Regions from separate parts of the Homo sapiens genome. Here region 1 is linked to region 2. Evidence: promoter capture Hi-C in human tissues and cell types (Jung and others, 2019). All regions are on one chromosome and are shown on one strand. The core of a region is centred on a gene start or on the middle of the fragment in contact, and the rest is flanking DNA. Distances in the headings are between cores, read along the strand shown. Region 1 has its middle 15 kb from the start of ZNF233. Region 2 holds the start of ZNF235 (zinc finger protein 235).

Evidence for each region. Contacts are between HindIII fragments. The study calls those that stand out against the background at their distance.
Region 1: a contact is called between a fragment that was not itself captured here and the fragment with the promoter of ZNF235 in region 2, in 4 of the 25 tissues and cell types used here (lymphoblastoid cells, pancreas, stomach and 1 more).

The regions. Positions count from the first base shown.
Region 1 is chr19:44,243,406-44,246,826 of GRCh38, forward strand. No RefSeq gene overlaps it. Among named protein-coding and RNA genes, the nearest start is that of ZNF233, 15 kb to the right of the region's middle. The HindIII fragment of the contact is 6,215 bases long and covers 1-3,421 here.
Region 2 is chr19:44,303,468-44,306,687 of GRCh38, forward strand. It overlaps ZNF235 (zinc finger protein 235), which reads right to left and starts at 1,558. Exons shown (of 5, transcript NM_004234.4): 1 at 1,504-1,558. RefSeq lists enhancers at 1,341-1,894, 2,471-2,972, 2,973-3,220. The HindIII fragment of the contact is 12,168 bases long and covers 1-3,220 here.

The DNA.
Region 1 (3,421 bases), core at 224-2,723, 60 kb before region 2:
AGAGATGGGGTTTCACCGTGCTGGCCAGGTTGGTCACGAACTCCAGATCTTGTGATCCACCTGCCTCAGCCTCCCAAAGTGCTGGGATTACAGGCGTGAGCCACTGTGCCTGCCCGTGTTTAACTTTTTAAGGAATTTCCACTCTTTTCCAAAGTGGGTGTGCTGTTTTACGTTTTCACCAGCAGTGTGCATCTTTTCTTCACATTTTCATCAAAATATGTAACGGTCGGTCTCTTTTAATTTTAGCCATTCTACCCTAGTAGTATCTCACTGTGTTTTTAATTTGCATTTTTCTAAACATGTTTTTCATGTGCTGTTTTCCATTATCATATCTTTGGTAAAGTCTACTTAAATACTTTGCCCATTTTTTTATTGGGTTACTTGTTTTCTTATTGAGTTTTGTGGGTTCTTTGTATATTATTGATACAAGTGCTTTATCAGGCATGTGATTTCCAAAATTTTTTCACTCAGTCTGTGGTTAAGCAGAAGTTTAAAATTTTTATGAAGTCTAGTTTATCATAATTTTCTTTGATGTATCATGCTTTTGGTGTCATATCTAAGAAACCTTTGCCTAATCCAAGGTCTCAAAGACTTTCTCCTATGTTTTCTGCTAACTTTATAAGTTTAGGTGTTTTTTTTTTTTTTTTTTTTTGAGACGGAGTCTCGCTCTGTCGCCCAGGCTGTAGTGCAGTGGCACGATCTCGGCTCACGGCAAGCTCCGCCTCCCGCGTTCACGCCATTCTCCTGCCTCAGCCTCCCGAGTAGCTGGGACTACAGGTGCCCACCACCACGCCCACCTAATTTTTTGTATTTTTAGTAGAGACGGGGTTTCACCATTTTAGCCAGGATGGTCTGGATCTCCTGACCTCGTGATCCACCCACCTCGGCCTCCCAAAGTGCTGGGATTACAGGCGTGAGCCACCATGCCTGGCCAAGTTTAGGTTTTACATACAGATGTATGATCCATTTTTAGATAATACTTATATATAATACAAAACACGTTTATTCATCTTAAAACTATGGATGTCCAGTTATGCCAACACCATTTGTTGAAAAAATGATCTTTTCTCCATTGAATTGACTTTGTGTCTTTGTCAAAAATCAATTGACCGTATATGAGTGGGCCTATTTCTGAACTCTCCATTCTAGCTCGTTGATCTTTTTGTCTCTTCACCATACACAGCCAGTTGTTCTTGATTACTAACATAGCTTTATAGTAATTCTCTCTAAATCAGGTAGCACGAGTCTTCCAACTTTGCTTTTTCAAAATTGTTTTAGCTATTCTAGTTCTTTTGCTTTTTCATGTAAGTTGTAGAATCATCTTGTTGATTCTTTTAAAGAATATTTGCAGGGCTTTTAATGGGAAGTGTGTTGGAAGATTTGACTTCTTTAGTCTTCCAATCAGTGAAAATGGCATGTCTCTTCACTTATTTAGGTCTTTTATTTCATCAGTGATTTGTATTTTTCAGTACACAGATATTGCCTGTTTTCTTAGACTTGTACTTAAAAAATTCCTGAAAATTTTGTTCTGTTGTAAGTTTCTATTTGTTCATAATAGTATATAGAAATGCAACTTATTTATATTAACATTGTATATTAACATTGCATCCCAGGACCTTTTGAAACTGATTTATTAGTTCTGGTAACTTTTTCATTCTTTATACATAATCATGTTGTATGCAAATGGAGACAGTTATTTCTTGTTTTCCAATATGTTTTCTGTTTCTTTGCTTGTTTCCCTAAGAGCTTTTTCTGCATCTACTAAGATGATTGAAGAGTTTTTGTTCTTTAGTCTATTAATATAGTGACTTAACATTCATTTTAAAATGTTCGAACAACATTGCATTCCTGAGATAAACCTACTTAATCATGATGTAGTATTATTTTCATATATTCGACTTGCTGGTATTTGTTGAAGAATTTTGTGTCTATGTTTATGAGGAATATTGATCTGTTGTCTTCATGCATTTTTCTAATTTTGGTAACAAGATAATGCTAGCCTTATAAAATGAGTTGGGAAGTGTTTTTCTCCTCTTTATTTTCTTCTTTTTCCTCAAAATGTTTGTGTAGAATTGGTAGTTTCTTTTCCCTTAAATGTTTGGTACATATAAGAGGCTTAGGCCTGGTGGTGGTGTTTCTGGAGGTGTTTTAACTTGAATTCAATCTCATTAATAGGTATAGGAATATTCAGGATGTCTGTTTATTCTTGAATAAATTTTGGTAGTTTTTCTTTTTTAAATACATTGTCTATTTCATCTAGGTTGTCACATATGGCATAAAGTTGTTCATAATATTTCCTTATTATCATTTTAATGTCATTAGGATCTGGCGTGTGTGTGTGTGTGTGTGTGTGTGTGTGTGTGTGTGTCTCCCAGGCTGGAGTGCAGTGGCACAATCTTGCATTCACAGCACCCTTTGCCTCCGGGGCAGGTTTAAGTGATTCTCCTGCCTCAGCCTCCTGGGTAGCTGGTATTTTTAGTAGAGAGGGGGTTTTGCCATGTTGGCCAGGCTGGTCTCAAACTCCTGACCCCTGAAGTGATCCACCTGCCTCAGCCTCCCAAAGTGCAGGGATTACAGGCGTGAGCCACTGCACCTGGCCTGTCATTAGGATCTGTAATCATATCCTTCTTTCAGTCCTACAATTGGTAATTTCTGTTTTGTTTTCTTGTTCTTTTCAAAGTTTATTGCTTTTTCTTCACTATTGTTATCCTTTTCGTTTGGTTGATTTCTGCTTTCATTTTTGTTGTTTTCTTCTTTCTTGCTTAGGGGTTTTTCTTTTTTCATAGACAGGGTCTCACTCTGTTACCCAGGCTAGTCTCAAACTCCTGGGCTCAAGCAGTTCTCCTGCCTTGGCCTCCCCCAAATCCTGGGATTACAGGTGTGAACCATTGCACCCAGCTTTTTTTTTTAAAGTTTATTAAGCTTAAAAAAGCTTAGATAATTGATGTAAGTTCCTTTTCTTCCAATATAAGCATTTCATGCTCTAAATTTTTCTCTAAATGCTGCCTTAGTGGCATTCTACAAGTTCTGATATGTTATCTTTTTATTTTTATTTCTTATTTTCCCTTTTCTCTTCTAACTCATGGGGTTTTTTTTGACCCATGGGTTATTTAATTTCTAAGGGTAGTGGGGGATTTTCCTGAGATTGTTTTGTTATTGATTCTCATTTAATTTTGTTGTGATATGAGAATATACTTTGTGTGGTTTCAATTCTTTTAAATTGGTGCAGTGAATTACATGGCCCAGAGTATGATCCATCTTGGTGTATGTTTTAATGATGTTGATTAATAATGTTGTTGAGGTCTTCTATATCCTTACTGGTTTTCTTTTCTTTTTTCCATCACGGCAAGAGTTCATCATGACTTACTGGTTTTCTATTTGTTTTATTGATTAATGAGAATGAAGTCTCCAGCTGTTAATT
Region 2 (3,220 bases), core at 308-2,807:
GCATCATGAGATAGGTTAGGGATGGCATTAGTCACCATGGCACTTTTATGTGACACTTCAGAGAAAGGTCCCCCTGTCTCTAGGCAGACACAGTTGCACACGGCTTAGTGAGGAGAACGGGAGCTAGCTCCCAGCTACCCCTCGGCCCCCTCAACCAGCTGCTTTTGTTCATGAACATTTCATATTAACAGACCTAAATCAAATACAGCTCTCTGTGTACTCCTTCTGAACTTTAGTTTCCAAGGAAATGAGACACAGACAGGCAGGGGAATGTAACAGAGCCAAAATGCCTGGCTTCAAATTTTGGCATTTCTACCTATTTTCAACTGATCAGCAGTATAAACCTTAAGCGAATTATTAATCTCTCTGTGCCTTAATTCAGTTACCTGTGAATGGGGACAATAATAATGCCTGTATTCTCTATTTCCTGCAGCTTCTGACAAGCAAGTGCTATTATGCTTCATAAAACTGCCCTTTTGAGTATGCTTTCTAGAAAATGAATCTTTTAAGAAACCCAGAACTCAAAAATAATTGCTCTGTCCTGTGAGTTACCATTACCCTCAGAAAAGTCTGTAACTGTGATTGGTTGTCTAACATAATTAGTTCCGTTGGTAATGATAGTTAAACTGCCACAGGTTTTTTTTTCCTCCAACAGATGTAATTACTTGCAAATGTTACTAAGCTGGAGGAGCCTCAAGAAAGTCTCTTTTTCCACATGCATGAAAGCAATGACTAATAAAAACCTAAAACTCTCTAAGAAATGGTGTTACACTTAAGTTAACCACACGGGATTATTGGTTATAACCACATTATACTGAACATTTATTAGGGCCTCAGGACACCTCTGGCACTCTGCAAATCCGTAATGACGATCGCTTATCTGAGATAAAACACACAGGACATTCCCCAGGCTCCGCTGGAACTAATTCCTGTCTCCTAAACAAGAGGCTAGAAAAGTCCAAGAATCCAGGAACGGCCCCACATCAGGCAAGGATTAGAGAAGGGACAGCGGCTCCGTAGCTGGATCTCCTAGACTCAGAGGAGTTTCCAAACAACAGGCGTCTTTTTCAGTATTATAACAGAATTAACGGTGGCATCCAACATTTTCCTATGCACTGGTTTTAAGCTTATTTCTATAAAACCTCATTTAATTCTCACAAGAACATCACTGGGAACGCACTAACCCTTTACAGGCACGAGGAAACTGAGACAAGGAGAGATTAAGTAACTTGCCCAATATTTTACTGCGAGGAGCAGGCAGGACTGGCTGGTAGGTGCGTGAGGACGGCTAGGGCAGCAGACCCTCAACCTCGAAGGACGACGCGAGCCCGCCTCCCACGCAAGAGGTTCTGCCGAGGGGACGCAAACTCCCGCAGCCTCCCAACCCCGCCCTCCAGCGCTGGCCGCGGCTTCTCTTCCCCAAGCCAAGGACGGGTTCATTGCTGGCCCCACGCCTAGGCAAAGAGGGCTCGGAGAAGTCTTGGAGACCCGGAGCTGACTCACCTCCCTGGGAGATATCTCAGATCCGACCTCGCCTTCCTGGAGCGGAAGTGCCTCCGAGTGCCCACGGTTCGTGGACTCCACTTCCCAGAATTCCTAAGCGGAAGCGTCTCAGAGTTCTCTCACTCCTGGACTACAGTTCCCAGAATGCTCCAAGGGCAGCGCTTCCCACCAGCTGGGCTTTGTTTTGACTCAAGCCGGTTGGGTTTGAGCCACTTCTCTGGTGCTACTACTGTGAGATTCGTTTTTGTTTTATTCATTTTTAAAAGCTCATGAGAAAATAATTGTAAAATTTTTAAAGTGATGACATATAAAAATGAAAAGTGCAGCTTGTATTATTAAAATAAGTTAGAAACCAAAATTTTTCGCAGAAGCAGAGGGTAGGCTAAAATGGGAAGCGTAAAAGTGACTTAGGCTGAGCTCCGATGGACGCTGAACGTTAAGGAACACCAGATCTCAAACTTGTGTCAAATGCCGGCTCCCCAAATATCATCAACTCAACCTGTTGATAAGACAAAAAACAGAATTTATTGTTGATTGCAGTAATGGAGAACAACACTTCGACGGAGCGTTGGCACCTTCACAGAGCAAAGTGTCAAGGCAAGGTTGGAACTGATTGAGAACTGGATGTTTAAGGCGGGTCTTTCAATGCAAGGGATTTTATTAGTATTGCATAATGATCATGATACTACAGTCCAGGATTGGTGGATATAGCAAGGATTTTTGAAGCAAAGAATCTTAAATTGCAATCTATTGACACTTTCTTTGGAAGAGATTGAAAATTTGATGGGTCTCTGTGGAAGTTCCCATAATGAACAATTAAACAGTTTGCTTGGGCAGGAATCTCCTGGAATAAAGGCCTGCTGATGAAGACAGCTGAACAATCATGTTAGTGCCGAAAGTAAATTGTGATGAAACGGGAAAAGTTCACTTCTCCCTCTCCCAGGGCATGTGATGGGGTGTGGCTCGCTTCTTCGTGCCCAGCCGCTCAAACCTCTAGGGGAGCATGCACACGGGCAGGTTGTAGGGCTCCAACCCCACGGCAGTGTCTAGGGGTGAATGTTTACAGCTCCTGAAGCCCCAGTGGGCGTGTGTTATAGGGTGCTTTTTTAGTTCAGCCATCTGTAGGAGGCTTGTGTTAGCTCAATTAGACCCCTGACTTATCGCAAGCAAGAGAGGGCTTTCTGTATCCCAGAGGTTCTTGCCTTGGTGTACCAGAAGAATCGCATCACACATAGGCTTGGAGAAAGAGTGCAAGGATTGGAGAAACCTTGGAGAACGATTTGTAAGTAGCTCTCAGCAGAAGGGGGAGCCAGAAGGGAGATGGTTTTCGCCTGGAGTCAGCCTCTCAGCGGCCTGGGCGCTCCTCCGACTACCCAGGCCAAACTGCGTTATTCCACCGGTTAATGGCCTGCTGGCCTGCCGGTCTCTTCAGTGTGCTCTTTTGCCGACCCGCTCCCCTCGACAGCCTCTCGACAGCCAGCTGTTTGTGTGTCCGCCAATGCTCTCCTCTCAACGTCCAGCAGCTTGTGTCTCTGCCTGCTAGGGTATCAGGGTTTTTATAGGCACAGGATGGGGGCGTGGTGGGCCAGGGTGGTCTTGGGAAATGCAATATTTGGGCACAAAGGCAGGAATGCCTGTCCTCACCTAGGTCCGTGGCCACAGGCCTGGGGGTAGAGCCCTAGTCAGGGACCACACCCTTCTCCCCTCCAGCACTTCC